6 separate regions of the Homo sapiens genome follow, and all the other regions are linked to region 1. Evidence: promoter capture Hi-C in 16 types of primary human blood cells and fetal thymus (Javierre and others, 2016). All regions are on one chromosome and are shown on one strand. The core of a region is centred on a gene start or on the middle of the fragment in contact, and the rest is flanking DNA. Distances in the headings are between cores, read along the strand shown.

Region 1 (4,972 bases), core at 1,520-4,019:
ATTGTAACCAAAAGAACCAGAGAATCCCACCTTCTCCCCTGAGATAGCAGAGTCAAAGGCTTTCCCAGACATAATGTAGCAGCATTTCTCATCCAGGGCACCATAGGTATTTTGGGTGAGACAATTCTTTGTGCAGGTGTGTTCCAAGCAATGCAGGATGTTTTATATTCCTATTCCCCCCCACCCACCCAATTAAGTGCAAGTAACAATCCCCTAAGCCGTTGTGACCACCAAAAATCCCCCCAAATTTCCAAGTATGAGAACCCCTGGTATATTTTCACTCTACTTAACATTAAAATGACAGTGCTGAAATTCCCAGGGCTATGGAAATTGGAAGCAGAGGTTTTTTCTAAGCCTTTTAGAATTGGCCATTTGTGGTCTAATGAAGTACGATAACCCTTCTCTCAGCCACTAGAGGCTCTAGGAAAGTCCATAGTATTAAAGAGGCATTGCTTTTTACTTTGTCACTGCTTATCAAATTTAATCAGAAATTTCACATAGATTCATAAGGAATTAAAAGCCAGAAAGGGGCCGAGCACAGTGGCTCATGCCTATAATCAATCCCAGCACTTTTGGAGGCTGAGGCGGGCAGATCACCTGAGGTTGGGAGTTCAAGACCAGCCTGACCAACATGGAGAAACCCCATCCTACTAAAAATACAAAATTAGCCAGGTATGGTGGTGCATGCCTGTAATCCCAGCTACTTGGGAGGCTGAGGAAGGAGAATTGCTTGAACTCAGGAGGCAGAGGTTGTGGTGAACTGAGATCGCACCATTGTACTCCAGTCTGGGCAACAAGAGCAAAATTCTGTCTCAAAAAAAAAGCCAGAGGCCGGGCGCAGTAGCTCACGCCTGTAATCCCAGCATTTTGGGAGGCCGAGGCGGGCGGATCACGAGGTCAGGAGATCAAGACCATCCTGGCTAACACAGTGAAACCCTGTCTCTACTAAAAATACAACAAGATAGCCAGCCGTGGTGGCAGGTGCCTGTAGTCCCAGCTACTCAGGAGGCTGAGGCAGGAGAATGGCGTGAACCCGGGAGGCAGAGCTTGCAGTGAGCCAAGATCATGCCACTGCACTCCAGCCTGGGTGACAGAGCGAGACTCCATCTCAAAACAAAACAACAACAAAAGCCAGAAAGGGCTGGATGCAGTGGTTCACATCTGCAATCCCAGCACTTTGGGAGGCAGAGGCAGGAGGATCTCTTGAGGCCAGGAGTTCAAGACCAGCCTGGTCAACATAGCAAGACCCTGTCTCTACAAAAATAAAATAAAAGCCAGAAAGAACCTTTTGAAATTGCTTAGTTTAGTTGCTTACTTTAGTTTCTGCATATTTTTTGTGAGGAAAATGAGATCCAAAAAAATGGAATGTCCTACCCAAAGTAACAGTGAGTGAGTAGCTGATTAGAGGGCTAGGACACCTTCATGCATGCTTCTTTTTATTAATCTATGAGACATTTTTTCCCTATGCCTCCAAAGTTATATAAATATTTTACAATTACACTGGGCATGGTGACTCACATCTGTAATCCCAGCACTTTGGGAGACCAAGGCAGAGGATCACTTGAGCCTAGGAGTTCAAGACCAGTCTGGGCAATATAATGAGACCTCATCTCTACAAAAAATTAAGAAATTAGCCAGGCATGGTGGCACACACCAGTAGTCCCAGCTACTCGGGAGGCTGAGATGGGAGGATCGCTTGAACCTAGGAGGCAGAGACTGCACTGAGCTGAGATCGCACCACTGTACTCCAGCCTCAGTGACAAGAGTGTAGACCTTGTCTAAGAAACCAAACAAAACACACACATGCACACACTTTACATATATATATAAAATACATATGTATATTTTATATATATCAGAATCCACGATCCCTATAACTATATATATACTATATATATATATATATATATATATTTTTTTTTTTTTTTAATTATAGTATAGTTTTATGGTGGCCAAAAAAGGTTGGCTCTTGTGCCAAGGAAAAATGAGAGCAATTATCAATTTTAAAGTAAAATACATAGATCATTCTGTGCCGTGGAGGTATGTAATTGGAGTAGTTAAAGACTGTATTTAGGAATATTGCACCAATATCAGGAGTTTGAGGGAATTAATTGAGAAAAACAGACAAAAGGAACACATGAAAACCCACTCTTTTCATTTATAAACAGTTCCTATGTCCCCTTGGAGAATAGCATTATTGCATAGGATAGATAAACCCAAGGAAAACAAAATTAATTGATAATTAATTAGTATTATAAAGATTTTTTTAGTAAATAACTGGAATTACAAGTAAGAGTAAGATAAAATATGGTGTTTTACAAGAAATTTTACAATACAGATAGGACTTTATAAAACAGACTTGCATTGTTTTCCATTAAACTCTGGAAGGAAGAATCTAAACAATACTTGGAAAGCCTATCTGGAATAGTAAACAAGAAAGGCTATGACACCTATAAAATTTTAATTTCCTCCATCATAATTCCTGTCAGTGTATAAATCATTGCAATTGTATGTGTTAATGTGTACAGTACAGGGAAGAAGCCTGTGCTCTGCTTCCATACTTACTTTATATAATATGGAAGCTTGATAAATGTTTAATGGTGGCCATGCACCGTGATTGAAATATACTTTGTGTCACCAAAGTGGTGACATTCCTTCCGCATTGGGTGGACACTGCCACTGCTCTGTCTTACAGGTGCATTTTCAAAATTAACCACTGGAGGGAGTTGTTGGCATAGCTAAGATGTACCCAAGGTACCTTTTTTTTTTAAAGACCAGCTATGCAGCTTCTTTCATGGCCTATTTTTATTATCTCCTTCTCTTAAATCTGGGCTCAGAATCCACGATCCCTATGATTGTAACAAGAACAATCAAGCTTTGAAGATAGTGGACTTTTCCTACAGTGTTGACCTTAGGGTGCAGCTGGATGTTTTTACCCTCAGCGGCTTTCGGACTGTACAGATCCTGGAAGGACAAAAGATCCTGGCTAACTGTTCTTCTCCCTACCAGGTAAGTGTAAAACAAGCCTGAGCAAATATGGAGAGGGTTTCTTAATCTCTTTATTATCTAGATAAGCTATAAAAGCTACTGTTTACTGATACCGACTCCTAGAATAGATGACCTAGTTTTCAAATATCACCAAGTCAAGTAAAATGTAACATTTTTGTGTTACAGCATTGAAGAATATACACATACATGTGCAAACACATGACTAACTCTGTAACCGAGTGCCAGGGCCACTCCTACTGCCTACCACCCATGTAATCTTTTATAAGTCATTTTCTGTGATCTTCTCTGTAAAATAGGGATAACAGTCTCTGCTATGTGTTTATCAGAATTGTTATGAGGAGTAAATGAAGTAATGTATATAAAAAGAACATTAGCACAAATGTAAAGTCTTTTGTATGGTGGCATTATATGCAGAAATTCCTTCTAACTCAGCTTTAGACATAAGACATTTGCTGATTGAATATGTAGCACAAACCTGAACTAATCATGTGGACCCCATTTAGATCACAGCTGGAGTTCATGCAAACTCAGTAGGTCTACAAATTTGAATGTGATAGTCCAAATATTTCATCTTTTGTTCTTAAGGATAATTCCTAGAATTGGCTCTATTGATCACTTCTTTGGAGAGCTTCTCCCTTTACTGTAAGGGTGAGGAACAGTCTACTAAAATGTATGTCATAAAATAAACTTAGTTAAGCACTGTAATACCTTTCAACTTCCTACCGAAATAAGCTGCCATGGTAGAGGCAGAGAATTATTTTAGCTGATGGTGCTTTTTGTGATTTCAGGTAGACCTGTTTGGTATAGCAGATTTAGCACATTTACTATTGTTCAAGGAACACCTACAGGTCTTCTGGGATGGGTCCTTCTGGAAACTTAGCCAAAATATTTCTGAGTAAGTATTGATGAATGTCAGGGTCTCTGCCTGTCCCAATAATTTTCTGTTTCTCTTGGGTGCTATCTCTGCTTTGGCAGCCTTAGTTTTTTAATCCAAATGCCATGGTTCCAGTAGTTTCAGCCAGTTTTCATTAGAGTATCAGCAGAGCAGCTAGTGCAGGAAAAAGGAACTGCTTACTAAAAATAAGATTCAAAACTATTCAGACTTCAGGACATCATTCTGAATCTAGCTGTATCTTCCAGACTACAGCTATAGTATGGAAGCTTCCCTGTTTAGATATGTGAAAAGAAGCATTTCATGAGAATAATTTTCTAACTAATTGGTGTTAGCCTTAAATTCCTTTTTCTTTATTTATTTATTTTTTGAGACGGAGTCTCGCTCTGTTGCCCAGGCTGGAGTGCAGTGGCATGATCTCGGCTCACTGCAACCTCTGCCTCCCAGGTTCAAGTGATTCTCCTGCTTCAGCCTCCTGAGTAGCTGGGATTACAGGCGTGCGCCACCATGCCTGGCTCATTTTTGTATTTTTAGTAGAGATGCGGTTTCACTACGTTGGCCAGGCTGATCTCGAACTCCTGACCTTGTGATCCGCCCGCCTCGGCCTCCCAAAGTGCTAGGATTACAGGTGTGAGCCACCGTGTCTGGCCTAAATTCCTTTTTAATAGCAATTATTACCAAAAGTTAATAAGCATCCTTTGAAAAGACTTACATTTCTAAACTATATGCTAATTTTAGGCTATTTTTTATTTAATAAGTGGATAGAACCAAACCAGATAACTGACTCTCCTGGAGAAGAAGTAAGTGGTCTCTTAATAAGCACTGCTTGGTCTCAGAACCTTAGTACTCCCTCAAGCCTGCTCATAAAACTTACTAAGTCAGCCGGGCATGGTGGCTCACACCTGTAATCACAGCACTTTGGGAGGCCGAGGCAGATTACCTGAGGTCAGGAGTTTGAGAGCAGCCTGGGCAACATGGCGAAACCTTGTCTCTACTCAAAATACAAGAAAATTAGCTGGGTGTGGTGGCACATGCCTGTAATCCTAGCTACTTGGGAAGCTGAGGCACGGG
Region 2 (4,972 bases), core at 1,280-3,779, 200 kb before region 1:
ATCCGAGAGTGGGTAATTTATAAAGGAAAGAGGTTTAATGGATTCACAGTTCCACATGGCTGGGGAGGCCTCACAATCATGGCAGAAGGCACGGAGGAGCAAGTCACGTCTTATATGGATGGCAGAAGGCAAGGAGGAGCAAGTCACATCTTATATGGATGGCAGAAGGCAAAGAGAGAGAACTTGTGCAGAGGAACTCCTCTTTATAAAACCATCAGATCTCGTGAGACTTATTCATTATCACAAGACCAGCATGGGAAGGACCCGCCCCCACGATTCAATTACCTCCCACTGGGTCCCTCCCATGACACAGGGGAATTGTGGGAGCTACAGTTCAAGATGAAATTTGCATGGGGACACAGCTAAACCATATCATTCTACCCATGGCCCCTCCCAAATTTCATGTCCTCACATCTCAAAACCAATCATGCCTTCCTGACAGTCCCCCACAGTCTTAACTCATTTCAGCATTAACTCAAAAGTCCACAGTCCAAAGTCTCATCTGAAACAAGGCAAGTCCCTTCCGCCTATGAGCCTGTAAAATCAAAAACAAGTGAGTTACTTCCTGGATACAATGAGAGTACAGGCATTGGATAAATACACCCATTCCAAATGGGAGAAATTGGCCAAAACAAAGGGGCTAAAGGCCCCATGCAAGTCTAGAATCCAGCAGGGCAGTCAAATCTGAAAGCTCCAAAATGATCTCCTTTGACTCCATGTCTCACACCCAGGTGATGCTGATGCCAGGGGTAGGCTCCCATGGCCTTGGGCAGCTCCCCACCTGTGGCTTTGCAGGGTACAGCCTCCCTCCTGGATGCTTCCATGGACTAGCATTTAGTAGGGACTCTGTATGGGGGCTGCAAACCCACATTTCCCTTCTGCACTGCCCTAGCAGAGGTTCTCCATAAGAGCCCCACCCCTGCAGCAAACTTCTGCCTGGGCATCCAGGCGTTTCCATACATCCTCTGTAATCTAGGCGGAGGTTCCCAAACCTCAATTCTTGTTTTCCGTGCATCTGCAGGCTCAACAGCACATGGAAGCTGCCAAAGCTTGGGGCTTGAACCCTCTGAAGCAACAGCCTGAGCTGTACATACCTTGGCCCCCTTTAGCCATGGGTGGAGCAGCTTAGACACAGGGCACCAAGTCCCTAAGCTACATAGAGGAGGGGGGCCCTGGGGCCAGCCCACGAAACCATTTTTTCCTCCTAGGCCTCCAGGCCTGTGATGGGAGGGCCTGCCATGAAGACCTCTGACATGCCCTGGAGACATTTTCCCCATTGTTTTGGTGATTAACACTTGGCTCCTTGTTACTTATGCAAATTTCTGCCGCTGGCTTGAATTTTTCCTCAGAGAATGGGGTTTTCTTTCCTGTCTCATTGTCAGGCTGCAAATTTTCTGAATTTTTATGCTCTGTTTTCCTTTTAAAACTGAATGGTCTTAACAGCACCCAAGTCACCTCTTGATGCTTTGTTGCTTAGAAATTTATTCTGCCAGGTACCCAAAATCATCTCCCTCAAGTTCAAAGTTTCACAAATCTCTAGGGCAGGGGCAAAATTCTGCCAGTCTCTTTGCTAAAACATAGCAAGAATCACCTTTACTTCAGTTCCCAACAAGTTCCTCATCTCCATCTGAGACCACCTCAGCCTGGATTTCATTGACCACATCATTATCAGCATTTTGGTCAAAGCCATTCAACAAGTCTCTAGGAAGTTCCAAACTTTCCCCCATTTTCCTGTCTTCTTCTGAGCCCTCCAAACTGTTCCAACCTCTGCCTGTTACCCAGTTCCAAAGTCACTTCCACATTTTTGGGTATCTTTACAGCCCAACTCTACCGGTACCAATTTACTGTATTAGTTTGTTCTCGTGCTGCTAATAAAGACATACACGAAACTGCGTAATTTATAAAGGAAAGAGGTTTAATGAACTCACAGTTCTCTGTGGCTGAGGAGGCCTCACAATCATGGTGGAAAGCAAAGAGGAACAAGTCATGTCTTACATGGTTGGCAGCAGGCAAAGAGAGAGAACTTGTGCAGGGAAACTCCTCTTTATAAAACCATCAGATCTTGTGAGACTTATTCACTATCATGAGACTATCATGGGAAGGACCCGCCCACATGATTCAGTTACCTCCCACTGGATCCCTCCCATGACACATGGGAATTGTAGGAGCTACAATTCAAGATGAGATTTGAGTAGGGACACAGCCAAACCATATCAAGATTATAGGAGGTTTTAACATTTTTTGGGTTTTTTAAAAATTTAAGTGATTTATGATTAACTCTAAGATTAAGCTATGTCAATCTGAGCCTTCATTTAGCCCTTAGGTTTCATGTGCCAATTTATGGATGAACTAGGTTGTACTTGCCTACAGTCTTAAAATGGCTATAATTTTGTTTCTTAATAATTTCTACTTTAGCTCCTGGGAGTTTTCTTTCTGGCTTTATGACTATGGTTGTTTCCTCTTACTCCAGCTGAGTACCAGGGACTGTGAGATCAATCATCTCTAGCCACTGACCTCTTCTGGGGCAGTCTATGAGTACAGCTGGTGACAGCCAGGATCTGGCATCCAGGTGGGAGGAGAGGGAAGGGAGGATCAGGAGGCTGCCCACAGGAGAAGACATCTCAAGGTTGCAAATAGGAATGATTCAAGCCAAGGAAGGGAATTTCTAGCTAATTCTGTATTAAAACAAGTCAGACTTTGCCTTATTGTCCCCCCATGTCTATGCCTGCAGTAACAGGAATTCATGAGAATAAGAAAGGTAAAGAGGAAAAATACTGGCCTGAAAATAGATAATGGAAGCTCTGCTAGTGCCAGGGTCTGCTTTGCTGGGGTCAGCATTAAGTGTGAGTAAATGTATCTGAATAAAAGTGAACCATGAGTATGTGTCTAAAGCATTCCTGCAAGGTGCTTTCAAGTTGTTGGAAAAGGATAATCCTTAGTCAGGATTGTGGCAAAGCCTAAAATAATCTTTGACCACAAAGATAATCGTAGCATCCCATGTGCTCCTGCTCCTGCAGGTGCACACAGTCGGTGCAAAGGGAGTCTTCCCCTGCTGTGGATGGGCAGCTGACTGTGCCCCTTTGCTTTCCAGCTGTGTCGACTCTACAAGTTTATTGAACAGAAGGGAGATTTGCAAGATCTTATGCCAACAATAAATTCATTAATAAAACAGAAAACAGGTATTGCACAGTTGGTGAAGTATGGCTTAAAAGACCTAGAGGAGGTTGTTGGACTGTTGAAGAAACTCGGCATCAAGTTACAGGTTTGGCAACAGTTTGATACTGGCAGTACAAATGTGTAGCATTACTAATAGCACAGGGAGGAAATGTGTTTCATTTCACTAATGCTAGTTAGTGTTTTATTTTTCCAGAAAAACTGCTTTCTGTGTTTTGGAGCATTTGATATTTAGTAATAATTTTGGCTTAAATCAGGATTTCTTTGCAAGTGCCACTGTTCCTATCATGAAGCAGTTCTTACTATGTTAGCCTCAGAGAGGTGGTTATTCTTAAAGAGAAGAGAATTTATTTTACTTGTCAGGCTATGGTTAAACAGACTTTGAGCTAGATCTTACTGAATATTTTGTTTATGCTAAATAGATTGTTCTGATGCTATTGATGGGAAACACCATTTTCAGCATTATATTCCACATTCTAAATTTCAAACCCTTGACACATTTGTGTGGCATCTCTCTTTATAGGTCTTGATCAATTTGGGCTTGGTTTACAAGGTGCAGCAGCACAATGGAATCATCTTCCAGTTTGTGGCTTTCATCAAACGAAGGCAAAGGGCTGTACCTGAAATCCTCGCAGCTGGAGGCAGATATGACCTGCTGGTGAGGGCTTGCCCTTTATTTATTTGCTCTGACTTAATTTTATTTCTTCTAAACTTGTTATTTTGAAATTTTCAAACTAACACCAAAAATTTGAACCAGTAATATCATTGGATACTTCTATTAATATATGTTTCATCTAGGAATAGAAATATAATGTGAACCACATTTGTAGTTGTTTAAGCTTAAAACAATTATATTATTTTGCAAGATAGTTGCAAAGATAGTACTGAGAGGGCTCATGTACCCTTTACTCTGTTTCTATATATATATATATATATATATATATATATATATATATATATATATATATATGTATTTTGGAGACAGGGCCTTGCTCTGTCACCCAGGCTGGAGTGCAATGGCGCAATCTTGGCTCACAGCAGCCTCGACCTCCCTGGGCTCAAATGATTCTCTCACCTTAGCCTCCCGAGTAGCTGAGACTACAGGCATGCACCACCACACCCAGCTAATTTTTTGTATTTTCAGTAGAGACAGGGTTTTGCCATGTTGCCCAGGCTGGTCTCAAACTCCTGAGCTCAAGCAATCCACCCACCTCAGCCTCTCAGAGTGCTGGGATTATAGGTGTGAGCCACCACACCACCCCTTGCATAAGTACAGTAAAATATCAAAACCAGAAAATTGACATTTGTATAATGTATGTGCATCATTCTTCTCCATTTTATCACGTGTACTTTCCCTCAACAACCACCATAATCAAGGTACAGAACTATTCCATCACCACAGAGATTTATGGGTATCAACATCTTATCAATTCAAATGAAATGTAGAAACTTTATCTCCCTGTATGTCTCTTTACCTCATGCCCCATTTATAATATAATTGTCTTAAATATTTCTTCTAATACATTGAGATCCACATCAAACAGTGTTAAATTTTTTACTTTACTGTTAAATATAATTATAAAACTCAAGGGGAGAAGAAGGTCTATTGTATTTACCCCAAATTTCTGGTTTGTGATGAGAAATTTGCTGTTATTTGAGTTACTTTTCCCCTATAGGAAAGTTATTTCTGACTTGATGCTTTAAAGATTATTTTCTTTGTCTTTAGTTTCAAATTAAATCATGATGTGTCTTGGCATGAGTTTCTTTGGATTTATCCTGTTTAGGGTTTGCTTAGCTT
Region 3 (4,903 bases), core at 440-2,939, 190 kb after region 1:
AGTGAAGATTTGAGACCGTGGGACAGTACTGCTGGAAGTAGAGAGGAGGAGTCGAGGCTGGGAGAGCTCCTGAGAGACTGATGGTGTTTTGGTGGAGGATTGGCCAGGCTACCTACCGCTTGTGGCACAAGGGCCCTCAATCTGTATGTAGTTCACTTACACCTGAACAGGCTGAGGTATGCTTCTCACACCTGGGTGGTCATCGTAATCACCAGGGAGTCTTTTTTGTATAAACAGTTTGGGGGTTTTAAAAAGCCACAGTGAGCTCTCCTGTCGCTCTTCAGCCCATTGGGTCAAAACACAAAAGTTGAACAAGTACTTGAAAGAAGTAGTTGGAGGCCAGGCGCCGTGGCTCACACCTGTAATCCTAGCACTTTGGGAGGCCGAGGTGGGAGGATTGTTTGAGCTCAGGGGTTTGAGATCAGCCTAAGCAACATAGCCAGACCCCCATCTCATAAAAAATAGAAAAGAAGACGAAGTAGTATTTACAAATGGAGCAGAACCAGAGTCCTTCCTGAGGTTTCACTTGGAGGCTGGATGGAGTTGGCGGAGGTATGAGCCTCCCAGCAACTCCGTAGTTTATGTTTATAGCCAGCGAGCGCTCAGAGCTTCCGTGAACCACCTCAAGTGGAAAGGGTTCAATCCCTATTCTCAAGCTTTCCTGGCAAGAGGAGTTTCTTTTCTTTTTTCTTTTTTTTTTTTTTTTGAGACGGAGTTTCACTCTTGTTGCCCAGGCTGGAGTGTAATGGCGCGATCTCCGCTCACCACAACGTCCGCCTCCCGGGTTCAAGTGATTCTCCTGCCTCAGCCTCCCAGGTAGCTGGGATTACAGGCATGCACCACCACGCCCGGCTAATTTTGTGTTTTTAGTAGAGACGGAGTTTCTCCATGTTGGTCAGGCTGGTCTCAAACTCCCAACCTCAGGTGATCCTCCTGCCTCGGCCTCCCAAAGTGCTGGGATTACAGGCATGAGCCACCATGCCCAGCCGCCAAGAGGCGTTTCTAATCTCTTTGGGTAATCAGACCCTTTTAGCCAAAGGTTCGGGGGCTTAAAAGAGCCTGACAACTATTGAGATCTGGCAGCTGCCTGGAATGCAGCTGGAGCACAGAGGGTGGGAGGTGGGAAGGTGCTGGGGAAGCTAGGAGAGTCAGCTGGGGTCAGCTCCTGCAGGGCCTAGTAGGCCTGGGTGAGAAGCTTGTGTTTTATTCTAAGTACAGTGGAAACCAATGGAATGATTTTTATGTAAAGTGTGACGTTTTAAAAATTACCATCAAGCTGTCTAGGCTGAAGACCTTAAGAAAGAGGGGTGAAGATCATCTCTGAGGAGGCATAAACTACTGAGGCCTCTCAGTTTCAGTCTGATGCTGTTTGGGGAAGTTACTTGTGGCCTTTTCTCTTGAATGTGTCTGGGTAGTGGAGATGCTGTCTGCAGTGGCATCTGTTTACCTCTCTCCTATTAGCTTCGTCAGACCATGGCTAAGTTCCTTCAGGAGCACCTGGCCCCCAAGGCCCAGGAGATCGATCGCAGCAATGAGTTCAAGAACCTGCGAGTGAGTTGGGAGGTCCGGGCAGTCGGGGGCAGTCAGGGAGTGGGGCTGAGCTGCACTGCTGCCTGGAAGAGCTCACACAGTTTTCTGGTAAATGAAGCCTCTCTAAGAATGCAGCCCCTCTCTCTGAAGTGTTTGGGTCTCATTGTTCCAGCCACATGTGACTGGCTGCCTTCCCCTCAACACTTATTCCACTCTGCTCCATTCTGTTGGCAGGAATTTTGGAAGCAGCTGGGGAACCTGGGCGTATTGGGCATCACAGCCCCTGGTGAGTATAGTGTCTTTCCCTAAAAAGAACTTTTCTTATGTGCCCTTTAAGACAGTTCCCAAAAGAAGCAGGAAGGGAAGGGAAAGATTGTGCTTAAAGAAACCCAGAACTGCATCTTTTGGACCTGTGAAAGCACCCATTGATTGTCAGCCCAGAGAACAGGACACTCTTCTATTTTATTAGACAGTGATGTAGAGAAGGCAGAGGGATTAATTAGGTCATTGTGGCTCACTTGGATCAGGATCAGTCCAACTCTTGAACTCTGCATACTTAATAGGCTCACCCAGGTGATTTGGGAAGTTTAGAAAACTCTGGATCAAGTGGTTGTCTTCATAGTACCTCAGTCTTACTGCCTCCCCTAATCCCTATAAGCTTTGTCCTACCAGTGGCCTCTCGGCAGGAACACTCTGGGCAGGTGTGTCCCTGCAGGGACTGCCTGTGTCCTCTTCTGCTTAAACCTTGGAGCTCATTTGGGAGCAGATAGCGGGGGGAGTAGGGTAGGGGCTGGGCAGGGGAGAGAGATGTCTATCTGGGCTTCCAGGTGAGGTGGCCAGATGATGTGTTTAATAGGCTGTCCGGAGGGAGAAGGCAGGGAGCTAGCAGGCTCTGGTTTGGATGATATTAACGTCTGAAAGAGGCCCAGACTGGCTTGCAGTGCCCGGTAAAGAGATGAGCCTAGGCCAGGCGTGGTTGCTCACACCTGTAATCCCAGCACTTTGGGAGGCCGAGGCAGGTGGATCACCTGCGGTCGTGAGTTCGAGACCAGCCTGACCAACATGGAGAAACTCTGTCTCTACTAAAAATACAAAATTAGCTGGTCATGGTGGTACATCCCTGTAATCCCAGCTACTCGGGAGGCTGAGGCAGGAGAATTGCTTGAACCTGGGAGGCGGAGGTTGCAGTGAGCTGAGATTGTGCCACTGCACTCCAGCCTGGGCAACGGAGCGAAACTCCGTTTCAAAAAAAAAAGCCCAGCCTGCTTGGGCCTGTATTCACTCTGGGCATGAGAGTATGAGTGGAACCCAATATACTTCTCCTTACATCCTAGAAAGTTATATCACCTTTCATAAAATGAAACCACTTGAAGATTAATTGAAACCATCTTAATGTAAAAGCATTAGGGGAAAGGCTGCTGGGTACTCCTAAGCAAGACTCTCCTACTGTGTTTTGGGGGTTTATGTACCCCACTCCCTGCAGACAATATGCTTCTGAATCAGATTGTATTTTACGGAAGAAAGAGGCAGTTAGAAATCAGATGAAAATGGCCAGGTGTGGTAGTGGGCTCCTATAATCCGAGTGACTCGGGAGGCCAAGGCAGGAGGATCGCTTGAGCCCAGGAGTTCAAGGCTGCAATGAGCCATGGTTACACCATTGCACCCCAGCCTGGATAAGAGAGTGAGAGCCCGCCTCTTGAAAAAAAAAAAGAAAAGAAATCAGATGAAAACTCTTTCAAGGGAACCTGAAAAAGAAAGCTGGTTACAAGTTCTGGTTTCTGCATGATGTCATGGTGGCTGTTTCTAATGTCACCTGCCTTCAGGCTTTCCTTCCTGCAGTTGTAGGGGCAGGTCAAGGTTTCCTTAGAGCCTAGAACGAGCCTGACTTATTGGTCAGAGTGAACATGTGTATAGGACCTTGCTAGGCTTGACCCAATCAGCAGGGCTGGGGGTGGTATCAGGTGTCTCAGCCACTTGGAGTTTGGATCTGCTGCCAAGGAAAAACCGTATATTTTATGAGGAGTTCTGAAATTCTCTGCCAGCATCTCATCTGCCCTCTGCTGTACAGCTCACCTCAAGATTTTCCCTGAGGCTGTGGCTCTCCTGTCCTGTCACCAGTCCTGCTTCTTTCTTTTTTTTTTTTTTTTTTTGAGACAGAATCTCACTCTGTCGCCCAGGCTGGAGTGCAGTGGCGCGATCTCGGCTCTCTGCAAGCTCCACCTGCCAGGTTCACACCATTCTCCTGCTTCAGCCTCCCGAGTAGCTGGGACTACAGGCGCCCGCCACCATGCCCGGCTAATTTTTTGTATTTTTAGTAGAGACGGGGTTTCACCGTGTTAGCCAGGATGGTCTTGATCTCCTGACCTCGTGATCTGCCCACCTCAGCCTCCCAAAGTGCTGGGATTACAGGCGTGAGCCCCATGCCTGGCCTCCAGTCCTGCTTCTTTGGGTTCAGCCCTATGCTATAAAATCTCACCTTCCTCAGGCCTTTTGCAGACACATCAGATCCTCTGGCTTTGTATCTGTTCTTGGTGCTTTGGACACCACCTCCACCCCAATGCCTTTGTTTTTCTCCAGGCCCTCTTTCTTCATTTATTCATCTGCCTCTGCATTTCTGTAACTTTCTGAGTAGTGGGTGCTCAGGTTGTTCACGTATCTTCATCAAGAAGTCTGTCTGGGATAAAGCAGAAGTTGCAATGATTGCCTTCTGAATCACCCCTCAGCTGAGGAGCACCAGCAGGCAAAACCAGTCCACTGAGCTTGTAAGCAGGTCTGTGGCATCAGCTTATTCTTGTTGCTAGAGAGAATTTGGAGTAGGTGCTACAAGGTGCTTCCCTTCTGCCGTCAAATGTAAGATTCTTAATGAATGTCCCGATTTAATCTGGGCTGCGTTTTCCACTCCCTTGTACCACACCACTCACAGTTCAGTATGGCGGCTCCGGCCTGGGCTACCTGGAGCATGTGCTGGTGATGGAGGAGATATCCCGAGCTTCCGGAGCAGTGGGGCTCAGTTACGGTGCCCACTCCAACCTCTGCATCAACCAGCTTGTACGCAATGGGAATGAGGCCCAGAAAGAGAAGTATCTCCCGAAGGTGAGGAAATGGAAATGTAATACACGCTAATCTCACAGTGCAACCACCAACTAAAAGATACCCTCTCCCCTTGGGGGCCAGTCAGACCTGCTTTCTGTAGCATGCTGCCATGAACCAAATGTGGTTAGGAAGGGGCCATGGATTGCTTTAAAATACTTGAGCCAAAAATAATAAAAATAGGACCAGAACTCTTGCATTGAACAACAGACAGACAACATTTGAAGAGAACTCTAAGAAATGGAAGAGTAGGACTAGCTTCCTTTGCAAAGGGAATGGAAAA
Region 4 (4,972 bases), core at 1,264-3,763, 160 kb before region 1:
GGGGATTGAGTTTCTTCAGGCCATGATGTTTGATTTGTGTTTGGAGCAGTAAGCCTTACAGCTGATAAATGGTTTTTTTCTCCTGGGGGAGCACGAGACTCTAGGAAGATAATCTATTAGGAGAACCTGAGGGAAGAGAGTTTAGTTGGTGCATGTGGGTGTGAGGTTGTTTCTCGGTCCCTTCAGGCTGCTATTGCAGAATACCATAGACTGTGTGGCTTAGAAACAACAGAACTTTATTTCTTACAGTTCTGGAGGGTGGGAAATCCAAGATTGAGGTGCCATCAGATTCGGTGTCTGGTGAGAGCCTGTTTCCTGGCTCATAGACAGCACCTCTCACTGTCCTCACCTGGTGGAAGGGTGTCGCTGGGGACTGAGTGTCTTCATTTTTATCAGTGCTTCTTTTGTAAGGGCACTAATGCCCTTGTGCGGGCTCCACCCCCATGACCTAATCACCTCCCAAACAGCATCACCTCAGGGATGAAGATTTCAACATGTGAATTGTGGGGGACACAAGCATTCAGAACATAGCAGGTGGCATATGAAAGTGCAGACCACCATATCCAGCAAATACATATGCATTTCCAATAGTCAGGGGAAGAGACAGAGGGAGAGGTGGAGGAGGGTGGAGAAGAGGACAATCTTCTCTGAGGAGGTAACGTTTGGGCAGAATCCAATTCATAGATCTGGGAAGAAAAGTTCCAGCAAAGGGACAAGCAAGGGTCAAGATCCTCAGGGGAAGGAGAGGAGAGGGGCCTGCTCAAGACAGTGAGTGACCTTGGAGGAATTGGGACAGGGAAGGCAGTCAGCAAAGCTGGGAGTCGGGGGGGTGCTGGACCATGGGGAGCCTGGAAGGCCATGGCAGGGAGTTTGGGGTTTATCTTAAGAATAATGAGAAAAAGAAACTGGTCAGAAAAACCACATATTGCATTTTTCCATTTCTACAAAATATCCAAAATAGACAAACCCAGAGAGACAGAAAGCAGATTCGTGGTTGGCTGGGGCTGGGGAGATTGGGAGGAAATGGGGAGTGACTAATAATGGGTGCTGGGTTTCTTCTGAAGGATGATTACAATGTTCTAAAATTGATTGTGGTGATGGTTGCACAACCCTGCAAATATACAAAAAAAAAAAAAAGCCCATTGAATTGTATACTTTCAGTGGGTGAATTATATGATATGTGAATTACATCTCAATAAAGCTGATTTATTTATTTATTCATTTATTTATTTTGAGACAGGATCTTGTTCTGTCGCCTAGGCTGGAGTGCAGTGACGTGACACAATCACAGCTCACTGCAGCCTCGACCTCCCAGGCTCAAGTGATCCTCCTACCTCAGCCTCCTAAGTAACTGGGACTATAGGTGCATGCACCACCATACCCAGCTAATTTTTAAGGTGTTTTTTTTTTTTTTGTAGAGACAGGGGTCTCACTATATTGTCCAAGCTAGCCTCAAACTCCTAGGCTTGAGTGATCCTCCTGCCTTGGCCTCTCAAAGTGCTAGGATTATAAGCGTGAGCCACTATGCCCAGCCTTGTTATTTTTTAAAAAAGGATTTTAAAAAATTATAAAAAGGATAATAGGAAGCTGTTAGAGGGTGATTTAATCAGCAGTAACATTCTCACTCAGGCTGTTGTGGGAGAACAAACTGTAGGGAGGGGAGAGTGGGGGCAGGAGATGGTTGGGAAGCTAGTGCAGTCGGCCAGGCAAGGAGCAATAGTGACTTGGCCTGGGTGGGTCACTTTGTGATGAGGATTAATGAAAAGGCCAGACTGGGGTATTTTTTGAAGCTAGAGTTTGATAATTGGTTGTGAGGGGTGGGAGAGAGAGATGAATCCTGGCCATTTAACTGCAGTGAAAAGACTGGAGGAATAGTTGGACAAGCGGAGGGACGGGGCATACGAGTTCTGTTTTGAACATGACAGGCCTCCGAGGTGTCCACTAGGCAGACGGGATGTCAGGGCAGGGTTACCACCATGTAGATGGTCACTGCTAAGAGCTGGGCACTCCTCCAAACACATACATTAAATCATTTAGTCTTCTCAGTAACCTATGAGGCGAGAGCTGTAGCTATCCCTGTCCATAGGGGGCGTATCCTGTGTGCCATTTCAGATGCCCGCGGCCTCACCTCTTGTTCCAGCCATTGCCCCAGTGACCAGTTTTGCACAGGTCTTGACCAGTGCCGTGTAAATGTCGCCTGGCAGGGCCTCTCCACATGCCTCTCGCCCAACACCATGATGGGGGGACACCCATGGAACCTGCTTGGCATTAACACATGAGCCGCCCAGAAGTGAAGGGGAGCTAACATTCCATGGGATGACTCGAGAGGAGCCAATGGATAACTGTCCCCCTTCTTCCAGTGAGTTCTGAAGTACGTTTCATAAAGCTTCACAGAAAGACTGAGTGGTGTTCACTCAGAGAGATGTTAACACACTCCCATATTGACTCCCCCCTTTCTCTGTTTCATTCCTCCTCCCCCTCACCCCTGCTCCCTGGGATCATGTTCCCAAATAAACTACTCATGCTTAAGCCTTTGTCTCAGGCCCCATGTAAGATCTGATCTTACATGGAGAATTTAACAGCAACAACATCACACCAGGGGCATGCTCACCAGGGGCAGAGCAGGGGTTCACACCCCGGCAAGCTTCTCTACTCGCTTCCATGTTGCCTCTCAAAGATCCCAACCTCTAGAGGACATTTAAAGGCACAGGCCTAGATGGAATCTAACCATCTAACCGGGAGAGACTGTAAATAAGAAAAAAGTCCCCACACCATGCTCACATTTAGAGATCAAGAAGAGGAGGAGCCAGCGAAGGAGCCAGAGAAAGAGCTGCCATCCGGGTAGGAGGAAGCCAGACCAGTGTGGAGTCCTGGACTCCAAAGAAAGACAGCGTTGCAAGGAGGAGCGAGTGCCCTACTGTGCAAACGCTGCTGAGAAATTGAGGAGGTGAGACCAGGAGACAGACCTTTTGGATGCGCCAGTAGGAGGTCACTGGTGACTTGGACAAGGGCAGTTTCAATGGAGTGACAGAAACAAAAACTTGGCTGGTGTAGGCTAAGAGGGAATGGAGGTGAAGATTCGGAGAAGTAGCCAGCAGGGACAACCACTTCAAGGAGGGGTGCGTAAAAGGGAGGAGGAAGTGGAGCAGAAGCTGAAGAGGGTGTAGGGTCAAGGAAGAGTTTGTTTTGAAAGTGAGAGAGATCATAGCGCAGTTATGTGCCGAAGGGAATGGTCTGGCAGAGAGAAGGAGCTGGATAGTGCAGGAGGGAGAAAGGTGATTTCAGGCAGTCTTGAGTAAGTGAAGGGATATGGTGCACAAAATGAAGGGATTGGCCAGGGATGCAAGAGGAGGCCATCCCTCCATCTGTCCATCCATCTATCCATCTGTCCATCTGTCTGTCCATCCATCCGTCTGTCCGTCCGTCCGTCTGTCCACCCATCCATCCATCCATCCATCTGTCCGTCTGTCCATCTATCCTTCCGTCCATCCATCCATCCATCCATCTATCCATGCATGCATCCATTGTGAGGAAGAAAGGTAGCAGCGGGCATAGATGCAGGCACCTTGGGAGATCTGATGGTGAGAGGCACGTACGTTCCAGCAGATGACATTTAGTTTCTCAGCAAAATAAGAAGCAAGATCTTTAACTAACAGCGAGAAACTAAGGGAAGGTGTTGAGGGTTGGAGAAGATGTGAAACACTTATCTGGAGAGTGGCGCAGTGAATTTAGTAGAGAAATATAGTAAGATTACTGGGCAAGCTGAGCGCCCACTTGAAGTTTGTGGTCAGAAGCGTCAAGTGCGGCTATTCAGTATGACTGTGAGTTTCCCCGGCAATGCTCAGCTACTCAGTGCAGGTGCAGGGTGTTGGGTTTAAGCAGGGTGGAGGCTGTGTCAGGAGATTCCAAATGAAGGGAAAAGAGCAAGAAAGGAGAGGGCTTCCACAAATGGGTGATTCTTGTCAAGGCCTACAGAATTGAGCTGGAGAAGGGGGTTGAAGGCAGTGAAAAAGGACAAGTTCAAAGGCAGGGAGTTCCCAAAGGGGACACATCATTGAATGGAGGTAATAGAGTAGATAAGCTGAGAGCCGAGGAAGGGGTGGTCAGGGAGCAGGGGGTTCAGAAGTGCTGAGGCAAAACCCTGGCCATGGGAGTGGGAGGCCCAGGCAGCAGAACGAGAGGTGGAGAGTGAGGAGGCCAAAGACCAAGAGTGGGAGGTGCTGGGTGGACATCTACATGGATGACCTTCCTTGTCCACCATCTCTTAAACAGCTCCCCATCCTGCCACTACCCCTTCATCTGCCTTTTCCTTTCATAGCCCCTCTGTCTAACATTATTTTACGTAGGACTGGTTCATTGGTTAATTATCCTTGCTGCCATCAGAATGTAAGCATCTGAGGGCAGGGACATTTTCTCTCTGGTCTACACTTATAAACTCTTTTCTAAGAACATACCTGGCACAGATTAGGTGCTCAGAAACATGTGCTGGACAAAAGAATGAATTAATGTTAAGGTCTAGGAAAAGCATGGAGGAGTGGTGGTGGAGAGGAAGACCGTGGGCCAGGTACTAAAATCTGTGAATGAGCAGGAGTGGCCTAGAGTATGGTAAATACTAGAAGGGATGGTGGATGGTCTGGTCTGATGGCATAGCTGCAAAGGAGATGCAGACTTAGGCTGAGGAGGAAGGGGGAGAAACCTACAGGTGGCCATGAAAGCAGGGAGGACAACTCGCTGCCTCCAGGCATACTGATGTGGAAGAAGAAAACAGAGCCAAGACAGGAGGTGGCTGCAAGGAAGCTGTGTGTGGGGGTCAGGCAGGTTTGCAGTAGAACAGGATGGTGAAAGGAATGTTCAAAGGGAAAGTCGAGTGGATGGGGAGATTTTGCTGATGACAAACCATAAGTTCCCGAGAGCAGAGTGAAAGGATCTGGGGGATTGTGTCAGATTAGGGGAATAGAGCTACATGGGGGTG
Region 5 (4,972 bases), core at 912-3,411, 130 kb before region 1:
TCTAGTTACTTCTCTCATTCTGTCTACCATTTCTTTTCTGGGGCTGACTGTTTTCTACTTATCTTTGCACATATATGACAGTCTAACTTTCTGAAATTGTGCTAGATAAGGGACATCAAATATGTGAGGTTGTTTCCTCCTCCCATGCCCAGTAGACATTGCTCTTTGGTCATGGTACTCTTTTGGGCTAAGCCTGGATGTAGCATCAGAAACCTTCCCAATACAGCTGGCTGCCAGTTTCTCATTATCGCTAGAGATGAAACTTATTTGTCATCCCCTGCCTAAGGAATTCCACTAGCCCCGAGGACGTGGAACTGACTTGCTTGATTCTAATCTACACTACTCCATTACTTTCTTCAGGGATGGACATGAGACTAGCAGGCACCTGACCAATTCTGTTATCTGTACTGTTCACAAATACCTAATCTCGGGACTCCAGAGTTACCATCATTTTGGGGCTCTGGTATTTTCCCTTCCACTGTCTGCCACTTTGATCAGGGCAAGAACAATCAAAGGAAACTTGACTTCCTTTACGGCTAACATGGGCTACTACCCATAAACTGGGAGAGAGAAAAAAAAAAAAGAAGAAGAAGAAGAAGAAGAAAAGAAAAAGGAAACTTTAGGGTAAAAACAAAAACACAAGTCTTCCCCAACCAGAACTTTGAAATGGATTGGCCCAGCCCTCCTCTCCAGAAGCCTCCACAGTTTCACAGGTCATTCCCCAAACCCAGGAAAGGGAATATTTCTTTCCCATCCTCAGTGACATGAAGCAAAGAGAATAGCCCTTTGAAAAATAATTTTTTTTTAAACTTAAAAAAGAAAATGTCACTTTCCTTAAGGGTTAAACAAAGTAGGCTATCAGGAAAATCTAGAATGTTCTTCCCCTCAGCCATGAAAACTGCTCACCATTTTCTGTTTCTTGCAAGCTTTATCCCGAGCCCCACCGGGGGTCTCTGGTAAGAGATACTTTAGAAAATAGAGAAGTTGGGGCAGGCTGCTGGCTTCCTTGTGTTTTTTTCCTCTCAGCCATTTCCCAAAACTTCTTAAAGTCCTCGCATTATACAAAGTGAAGATTTGTTCTCTCTACACCAGTAGTTGAGAAGTCTCTCCCGACAGAAGTTTTCACTACTGTTGCTGTTTGGAATTGGCTCAGCAGACGTAAACAGGGTCATCTGGGGCCAAAGAGGGTGGGTGTTTAGCTTTAAAGCTCCGGGGTTAAGAGTGAAAGCATGTGACTCCAGCCCGGCCAGAAACAGAGGAGCCTTTGTGTGCAGCGAGTGAGCCAGAGGCAGTCCACAGGGGGAGCGGGAAGGAGAACGCTGACACAGGTTCCGAGGGGCTGACAGGATGCCACTGCAGGGAGATTAACTCTTTGTTCCACAAGGGGAGCTTCTGTTCATGGCTCACAGTAGAGCAGAATACTTTTAAAAATAAAACAGCGAGCTTGCGAAGGGACACACATATTTCTGTAGCCAGAGTTGAGATGAGAGGCAGACCGAAGCAACTGGAAGCAAGAGCAATGTCCCAGCAGGAGTTTTTGGTCGATTAGCCTGGGCACTTCCTTGGGGTCCTCCCTTCTAAACACTGCAGGCTATTTCTGTGCTGCTGCTCCCCTCACACACACCCCTTCTCCTCCTGGATGGCTGGGATGAACCGCAGGAGATAGCAGGGCAGCCTGGACCACACCTCCCCTGGTTCTGCTTCCTCAGGAGCAGGGAGGCTGGTAGTTGGCAGGACCCTGCCAGAGGGAAGCTGCCATGCCACTGATTCAGCCCACCCTGGCCACACCCTCAGGCACCAGAGCCCACTGGTGTCATCCTTCACCAAGGTGCTTCGGAACCATGGACATTTGGTGAGCGTGGGCTCTGCTGGCACTGAGCAAGGAGGTGGCCCTCAGCCTGGCTCACCAGCCTACACTGCTCAGAGCCCACCTGCCTCAGTGCCAGCGTGCCCTTCCCCCAACTCCACTTCCACCCAGAAATTGCTGCATTGAACCCTACTGAAGTGAGCAAGTCAAATTTCCTGAAAGTCTGCAGAATGTGACTTTCGGACTTTGGCAGGAGGAGGAAAGGAAACAAGGTTCATTTTGCCCTCGCCCCGTGGGACTGCTCAGGAGTTCAGACGTGAGGGCGGCAGTGAGTGGCACGCCTTGCTGAACATCACGCCACGAGCACTCACACTTCCTCCCACTAGTATTCTTCACTCTTTGCTTACATGAAGATTGCTGAGCTCCTTGCAAGTGTCAGGTTCTTTGTTGGATAGCGGGGCTACAGTGGTAAATGAGACAGATCAGTGCCTGCCCACACAAGGGCCTTCGGTCCATCCAGACATGTAAAAAAGCCACTCACACAATAATGTCCATTGGTAGTCAAGAAAATGGTGACAGTTGTACTGAGTAAATGGTGACCATCGGTGGTAAGAGGTAAAAGGGAAATTTGTTGGTCCTTAATGGTATGAAATCCAGTCTTACAGGTGTATTTTGGTTTCCCCAGTCTGTGAAGTGTCATCAGTTCTTCTCTACATTTCACAGAGGAATCATGGAAATTATGGGTCTAGAATGGCCGTAAACTGCAGAATATTGAGGCAGTACCAAGCCCTGGTGCTCGGGCAAGAGGCTCCTGACCCCAGCCTTTGATCTACCAGACTCGGGGGCTGATGAATTTTTTTTGTGGTTGCTTTTTAGAATAGTAGCCAGCCCTCTCAAGCGTGTGAGTGTGTGTGTGTGTGTGTGTGTGTGTGTGTGTGTGTGTGTTCAGCACCTATGAAATCGGTACTCAAGGGCTCAGTACCTATGAAATTGGGCTAAAGGGTACTTGGCAAACATAATGCTGTGTTAGAAATGAGGTTGCCACCAGGCACCAAACCCTCTCCACTTCACAGACGGAATCATGGGGCAGAACCCTGGGCTCACTCAGGTGCAAAACAAGCAGCTTTTATCAGGGTTGCCCAGAACTCCCAGGCCTTTGCCCCTGTCCACTCCCGGGTCTTCCACAGTCCCCAACCATGTTTTCCTACCCCTCCAAGGGCTGACCACTCCCCACCAGTTCATTTTGCATGAACCTCTGAAGCCCCTTTCTGAGCTCATGGAAAAGCACCCCAGGTTCCTTGCCCGTCTTCCAGCTGGATAAGATAGAAGGCTGCAAAGCCCATTGTGGCTACAAATACTCTCTCTGGGCTGAAGTTGTGACCTCCAAAAGGACAGGACCATTTTCACAGCCTCAGTCTCTGAATGTGCTGACAGGAAGTGTACATCTCCAAAATCAAGAATGCAGTACAATAAACACACGTGCCCCCAGAGATTGCACCATCCTCCATCACCGTGTACACAGGGTGAAATGTACATGCGACAGCAGTAACTGCCTGGAGTATGAGGAAAGTCAGGAGCGCAATGAAGAAAAAGCTTGCTTTGGTTTCTAAGTTTTTGCAGTACTTGTTCTTTTGCTTTTTCCTTTACAAAGAAAACCATAATCCTGAAGCCTGGGGACCAAGTGACAGGTTCAGAGACTCAATAATTTTCCTGAAATCTTATGCAAAAATTCTTGAGTCTGAGCATGTCATATGCCTTTTCCCTAAGAGAGGATTGCTATCTTAATTCAGCAGAATCTCAAAAGAGTTCGAGACCTGACCAAAACAAAACAAAACAAAACACAAAATACTGCGAAGCTGGGGATGGTGGCTCACGCCTGTAATCCCAGCATTTTGGGAGGCCAAGGCAGGTGGATCACTTGAGTCCAGGAGTTCGAGACCAGCCTGGCCAACATGGTGAAACCCCATCTCTACTAAAAATACAAAAAATTAGCCGGGAGTGGTGGTGGGCGCCTGTAATCTCAGCTACTCGGGAGGCTGAGGCAGGAGAATTGCTTGAACCCAGGAGGCGTAGGCTGCAGTGAGCCAAGATCGTGCCATTGCACTCCAGCCTGGGCAACAGAGCGAGACTCCATCTCAAAAACAAAAAACAAAAAACCTGCTGAATAAAATGCTGGGGCAGGTCACAGAGATGCAGTCTGGTCCTGCCCCATTGATAGATAAGGACCCCAAAGACCAGTGAGGTGAAGTCACATCCTTGCCCAAAGTCATTCCGTCAGCTAATGATACAGTCAGCCTGAAAACCCAGTCTCCTTAATCCCCACCGGGTGATTCATCCACTTTTCCACACCACCTGGATTTCTTGTAGGGCATAATTTTGAGGGTGGGGACCATGTAGCTTATTTCTTTCCAATCTTCGCACTGGGCTTAGGGTGGCGCCTCGCTTCAGTGCCAGTGACTCATTCAGTGTACCTCACCTTCTTAGGAGCAGGGTTGGCGCTCGAATGAGCATTCGAATGCTGGTGACAGATCCCCCTGCAGAGTAGCGTGGAGCCAGGGGACATGTGAATGGTAGCAAAAGCAGTGGCCAGACAGGGCATCACTAACATCACTTACTTTCACCCTCCCTTTAGGACAATTCCAATTCTAATTCCACACCGAGCCTTCCCAGTTACGGGGGCAGAAGCGTCTCCTAGGAAGCAGTGCGTTAAGGGCAGCATGGTTTGGGGTTTAGGGGTCCAAAGGAGTCTCATTGTACACAGGGACTAGTTCCAAGACCTCCTGTAAAGCCAAATCACATAAAGTGAAAATTTCCCTTGAAAATCCTTTAAAATGCCTATGAAGTACAACAAGCAGACATGATCCCTCCACGGGACATCCCAGCCAGTCAGCTCTGCCTTCAGGCTGGAAGAGACTCCTGTTACCTCAGCTGAGCAGCAGAGGAAAACGTGGGTGGCATTTAGGGCTGTGCTGGGCCAGAGAAACTTATCTTCAGTGTGGCGAGATGCTGCCGTGAGATGAGGCCAGGGAAGGGTGGCTGCGTGTGCTCCCGTCTCACACACCCTCCGGGCCCTGCAACCTTGCCCGGCTGCTGCACTGTATCACCACACATCAACATATCACTGTATGTGTCCCTCCCGCTCTCCCCACCTCTCAGCTGAGCTCC
Region 6 (4,972 bases), core at 774-3,273, 140 kb after region 1:
CCAAAGTGCTGGGATTACAGGCATGAGCCGCTGTGCCCAGCCAAAAAAAATTTTTTTAATTAGCTGGGTGTGGTGGCACATACCTATAGTCCCAGCTACTCCAGAGGTTAAGGTGGGAGGATTGCTTGAACCCTGGAGGTCGAGGCTTCAGTGAGCTGTGATCACGCCACTGCACTCCAGCCTGTATGACAAAGTGAGACTGTCTCAAAAAAACTTTTAAAGAGGCACTAAGGCTCCCTAGAAAAAAAAGAGGTTCAGGGGGCTGTGTCTTGCAAGAGGCTAGGGTTGTTGTATTGGGGGCGCTGTTTGTTTTTGTATGCTCAGCAAACTTGTAAGTACCAGAAAGCCCTGATGTCAAGTATTTGCTCCTGACGTCACATACTACACTCCCATTTGAGGGTTGAAAAAAAATGAATGTACTGTATGTTCACTGGGCCCATTCTGGGGTTGTCCATTGTGACTTGCCAGCCCCAAGCAAGACATGGCCAGCCTTGGCACCACGTTACCTCAGCAGCTCCATCTCATGACAGCACGGCTTGTTGGTGAATGACAAGTTGGCTCAGACTCCAAGCTCCCACCCCCTTCCAATCCTGGTGGGAGGAGACAGGTACAAGCAGCTAGGACCCCATGGAAGGCTTTCCATTCACTTGAGCCCCAGGGCAAAAATCCATTCACTTGTGCCCTCAGGGGCCACCAACCCCATTCCTGTCCTAGCAAACCATCCTTCCCGTCCCTGCACTGGGCACACTGATAGCTCCAAGCTTCCTGCTCCCATGCCATGCCAGATGTTTACACAAGACAAGAGTCTGTAGGGACAAGCATACCATGACCTGGCACAGGGCAGACACACAACATGAATAATTAGCAAATGAACGGATATTGAAATCTTCCCAAGAGGAATCGGATTAACACACAATTGTTGAGTCTAGGGGGGCAAGTGTAAGAGTATGGGGTGTAGGGGCTGGTACATGGTGCTGTTGTGTCTCCATCTACCCACCATGTAGGTGAACCCGCTGTGTCCATTTAACCCCCATGCCTGGCACCTACAGTGCCAGCTCTATATTGGGGCCAAGCTAAGCCGGAGGGAGCAGTTTTTTCCCTTTCTTCCTTTGAAGGGTGTGTGTGTGTGTGTGTGTGTGTGTGTGTGTGTGTGCGCGCGCGCGCGCATCCGTGGGAGGGAGAAAGGAAAGACTGCAATTTAGATTACAGTAAATTAAAAGTTACCTTTTGAACACAGGTATTCCCTGCTCTTACTCCAAAAAGATGGACCCAGGTAAGCACTGTGGCTGAGAGGCTGGGAATTGGAAGAAGGGAGAGAGCAGGAGAGCGGTAAAGGCAGGGACTATCAGTCAGCCATAACTAGTGCGTGCCAAAAATGTACGTGCGTGTGTGTTTGTATGAAGGCAGTGGTAGGGGTCCACAATGAAGACAAGCCCTTACATACTGTAGAACATGTTACAGTTTAAAAAGCATGCTTACTCATCATGTTCTTAGGTGCTTCTAAGGGTAGGTGCTTCTCCCACCGCACACTCAAGGCCCAGGGGAGCTAGGGGTTATGCTCAGGGAAAGGCCATAGAGGTGCAGCTGGGTCGGAATCCAGAATCCAGTTCTTGGGAGCTGTGCCATCGGCTTCCCTCGAAATGAACAAAAGACCGTCCTAGCCTTTAAGAAGTAGCAGGTGATTCCCACACCAATGGGGCACTTCAGAACATGCAGGACCACTCAGGTGGGTGCTGCAGGAGCCCAGTGGACCCACAGCTGGGCAGCCTGGATGGCTCCCATGTGGATTTCCTGCATGAGGGCAACACGCAGCTGCTCCAGGGAGATTTCCAAGTGGGAGGAGGCATGAGCAAAGGCCAAGAGCTGAGAACAGAAGGTCATAAACAGGAGACAACAAACAGCTCTGAGAGGCTGAGCAGAGATTGGGCCGAGATACGTGGGGCGTGACAGGGGCAGAGGACAGATGGGGAGGTTGGCAGGGCTGCTGGCCTGGAGGTAGAAGCAAGAATCAGGTGGATGACAGGGTTGGCCACCATGGAGCACCTCCAGGCTGACAGAGTTGAGACAAGAACCCATACCTCCTAACTGGCGCCACTCCACCCAGGAGGACTCAGCCAGCCCTTGAGCACACAGGGACACACTGCTGAACCTTATATTGACTTCCAATATGTATCTTTGCTGAGAGAATGAATGAAGGAATGATTGTCAGGCAAGTGACCATGTCTGAGAGGCCCTGTTGGGTTAGGGGTGTGGGCACAAAATCCTTAGTGCCAGGGAGAAGACAGGTTTTTTTTTACTGCAGAACCAAATGACCAAAGCTGCTTCTTTTTTTTCCCTTCCTCTCCCACAGGTCCGAAGGTAGGAAAGTTCCCCCAATGGTCTCCCCTTTTTCCTCCCACTGTCATGTCCTCCAGACCCCTAGCCTCCTTCCTAGACCCTCAGGGAGCAGCCACCACTTCCCCCAAATGAAAAGAAGGGAGCAGGCTCAGGCAGCAGCCCCGTGGAGTGGGGGTGGGGTGGGCAGCGCTGCACTCCTCCACCCCCTGCTGGCTGCAGCCTTCTTGGCGTTCTCTCCTCTGTTTTCCCATCTGTCTCTCTCCTTTCCTCACGTCCCCTCCCTGCCCTAGCAGCCCATCCTCTCTCCTGCTGCTTCCCCGCCTGTGCTATGCTTTTCTGCTTTCCTGGCTACCCCCACAGCCTTGCTGGATAGCTGGCTTGCTCCCAAACTCCAACCACACTATGGGGCCCCTAGGACCTACTCCTGCCAGAGAAAGGAGACTGCGTCTCCTCCACCTCTTCTCACCCACTGGCTACCACCAGCAGACTCAGTTCCTAGGCCTGGTCTGTGTGCCAACCCCCAAACAAAAGAGCCATAGGCAGAGAGGCAGGTGGGGTGGGAAGTGGCTGTTTCCAGGCATCACTGAGCCTGGATGGGGCAGGGGCTGCTCTACCATGGTCACAGGAAAGCGCCCAGCCCTGGAGCCTGCCTCTTCCCCACTGGTACCAAGCCCTAATCAAGCCCTAGGAGGCAGAAGGAGACTGGGGAGTTATCCAGCCCAGACAGTGGGAGCATAGCCCCGCCCTGCTCCACAGGGCCCCAGACCCCGAGTCCCCTACCACAGAAGCAAGGTGGTATCTCTTGCCTGCCCCCTGGGCTTGTGGCAAAAAGTTAAAAAAACAAAAAAAAAACAAAAAACTCCCCTGGCCTTGGGACTTCAGGAATGATTCCAGCCAAGATGGAAGGTTAAACCACACTTTTTCCAGACCTCTTCTGACTGAGGCAGAAAAGCTTTGATTTTACTTTCTATTCTTCCTGATTTCTTGGGTCTGGCATCCGCTCAGGAACAGGTATGAGCTCGCACATACTCATGTACACAGAACCATGCACTCCATGCACGTATCTGTGTACATACCAAGCTTGAATATGAACCCACCCATGCACACGTACACAAACATAGCTATTTTATATAAATATGGCACACACCGTCTACACACATACACACTACCTATAAAAAGAATACATACATCCTCACCTTGCCACCTCCTACCCTCCGTGTCTTCTCATCCTCCAACTGTCTTCCTTCTTCCCCTCCTCAGCTCTTTCATCTCCCCTGACCCAGCCTCCTGTCTCCCCCTGCCCCTGGCCTTCAAAGAGCTCTTCTGTAGCCTCCTCTAGCCTCACCCTTGCTCCTAAGTACAATGAGCCTGCAGTTCCTAGCATGGCAAAGCCTCTAATCACTCTGCAAGGGTTCCTGGGTGAGAGAAAGGAGAAGATGAAATAATTCTGCTTCTTAGTTGCAAATAAAATAAATCGAGGTACAGGGAGCGGGAGTCATATCTTGGCTCAAAGAATAGAAACCAATAAATCTAGGTTGCTTGCCTTTTATCTGCTCAGTGTTCTGGCCTCACCAAGGCAAAAGGCACGGGACATGCTACCCATGCCCCCAGCCCTCCACCGCAACTCCTTACTTGCCTAGAAATCCTGAGTCCCCCAGGGAAGTGGAGTGAGGGAGAGCTGATCTCAGGTAAGCTTAGCCCTGACCTCTGACTCTGACATTGTTCATTTGACTTTCCACAGGGGCACTGCCACTGTGGGGGGCATGGCCATCCTCCAGGTCACTGCGGGCCACCCCCTGGCCATGGCCCAGGGCCCTGCGGGCCACCCCCCCACCATGGTCCAGGGCCCTGCGGGCCACCCCCTGGCCATGGCCCAGGGCCCTGCGGGCCACCCCCCCACCATGGTCCAGGGCCCTGCGGGCCTCCCCCTGGCCATGGCCCAGGTCACCCACCCCCTGGTCCACATCACTGAGGAAGTAGAAGAAAACAGGACACAAGATGGCAAGCCTGAGAGAATTGCCCAGCTGACCTGGAATGAGGCCTAAACCACAATCTTCTCTTCCTAATAAACAGCCTCCTAGAGGCCACATTCTATTCTTTAAAGAGCCTGTCTTCCTTCATATCCAACCTGGCTGTCAGAGGACCCAGTTGTCTCCAAGCTCCCTAGTTGTGAAGATGGGGCAACCATCCTGGCATTCTCAGAAGCTTAATGCCATGGTGCTCACTATAAATGGCTGTGTAAGGTCACCTCTCCTTTCCTTTTCACTCCTGTGCCCTCCCATCGAGGAACTTCAAGTGTGGCCTCATTACCTCTATGCCATCCTGTACATCCAGATCTGGTGGGCCTTCCAAGGTTGCAGCTTGCATGCCTCACTCTACAGACCAGAAGCCTCCCTCCAATCCAGATGGTTTCTCACCATTCCCTTAAAATACACTGAACTTTCCAGCCCCCTTACCTTTGTTTGCACAGGTAAGGAAGAATGCCCCCACCCCAGGTCAGGAAGGCCTTCCCTCTCTCCTACCTCCACATTTCAAAGCCCACCCTTTCTTCCAAGCCAGCTGAAGCCCCACCATCTCCAAGAAGCCTTCTCTAAGGCCTATTAGGAAGAAAGAGGTCCTTCCTTTTTGCATACTG

Evidence for each region. Contacts are between HindIII fragments. The CHiCAGO score rates a contact against its expected background, and 5 or more counts as called.
Region 2: a fragment that was not itself captured here is called in contact with the fragment with the promoter of BUB1B-PAK6 in region 1 in 1 of 17 cell types (total B cells); the score reaches 5.7 in total B cells.
Region 3: a fragment that was not itself captured here is called in contact with the fragment with the promoter of BUB1B-PAK6 in region 1 in 2 of 17 cell types (total B cells and naive B cells); the score reaches 6.8 in total B cells.
Region 4: a fragment that was not itself captured here is called in contact with the fragment with the promoter of BUB1B-PAK6 in region 1 in 4 of 17 cell types (total B cells, naive B cells, M0 macrophages and 1 more); the score reaches 8.0 in total B cells.
Region 5: a contact is called between a fragment that was not itself captured here and the fragment with the promoter of BUB1B-PAK6 in region 1, in 6 of 17 cell types (M2 macrophages, M0 macrophages, M1 macrophages and 3 more). The highest score is 8.7, in M2 macrophages.
Region 6: a contact is called between a fragment that was not itself captured here and the fragment with the promoter of BUB1B-PAK6 in region 1, in 3 of 17 cell types (naive B cells, total B cells and M1 macrophages). The highest score is 6.0, in naive B cells.

Annotation. Positions count from the first base shown.
Region 1 is chr15:40,214,659-40,219,630 of GRCh38, forward strand. BUB1B-PAK6 (BUB1B-PAK6 readthrough) reads left to right here and starts at 2,770. Exons shown (of 10, transcript NM_001128629.3): 1 at 2,770-3,009. It overlaps BUB1B (BUB1 mitotic checkpoint serine/threonine kinase B), which reads left to right. Exons shown (of 23, transcript NM_001211.6): 21 at 2,838-3,009; 22 at 3,798-3,904. All of the region lies in intron 1 of LOC107984763 (a long non-coding RNA gene), which reads right to left. The HindIII fragment of the contact is 293 bases long and covers 2,581-2,873 here.
Region 2 is chr15:40,013,411-40,018,382 of GRCh38, forward strand. EIF2AK4 (eukaryotic translation initiation factor 2 alpha kinase 4) reads left to right here. Exons shown (of 39, transcript NM_001013703.4): 28 at 3,092-3,262; 29 at 3,698-3,832. Among named protein-coding and RNA genes, the nearest start is that of SRP14, 23 kb to the right of the region's middle. The HindIII fragment of the contact is 2,964 bases long and covers 1,048-4,011 here.
Region 3 is chr15:40,406,175-40,411,077 of GRCh38, forward strand. It overlaps IVD (isovaleryl-CoA dehydrogenase), which reads left to right. Exons shown (of 12, transcript NM_002225.5): 2 at 1,462-1,551; 3 at 1,765-1,816; 4 at 4,454-4,623. Among named protein-coding and RNA genes, the nearest start is that of IVD, 2.8 kb to the left of the region's middle. RefSeq lists an enhancer at 826-1,325. The HindIII fragment of the contact is 993 bases long and covers 1,194-2,186 here.
Region 4 is chr15:40,057,893-40,062,864 of GRCh38, forward strand. The region is part of intron 2 of SRP14-DT (SRP14 divergent transcript); the gene reads left to right. Among named protein-coding and RNA genes, the nearest start is that of SRP14-DT, 21 kb to the left of the region's middle. RefSeq lists enhancers at 3,689-3,748, 4,623-4,972. The HindIII fragment of the contact is 258 bases long and covers 2,385-2,642 here.
Region 5 is chr15:40,080,623-40,085,594 of GRCh38, forward strand. It overlaps LOC105370787 (a long non-coding RNA gene), which reads right to left and starts at 1,174. Exons shown (of 3, transcript NR_188231.1): 1 at 907-1,174. RefSeq lists enhancers at 1,710-2,394, 2,027-2,146. The HindIII fragment of the contact is 2,474 bases long and covers 925-3,398 here.
Region 6 is chr15:40,351,995-40,356,966 of GRCh38, forward strand. It overlaps PHGR1 (proline, histidine and glycine rich 1), which reads left to right. Exons shown (of 4, transcript NM_001145643.2): 2 at 1,238-1,273; 3 at 2,351-2,358; 4 at 4,079-4,440. The coding sequence starts at 1,264. The coding sequence ends at 4,309. Among named protein-coding and RNA genes, the nearest start is that of PHGR1, 3.4 kb to the left of the region's middle. RefSeq lists an enhancer at 2,410-2,935. The HindIII fragment of the contact is 2,528 bases long and covers 760-3,287 here.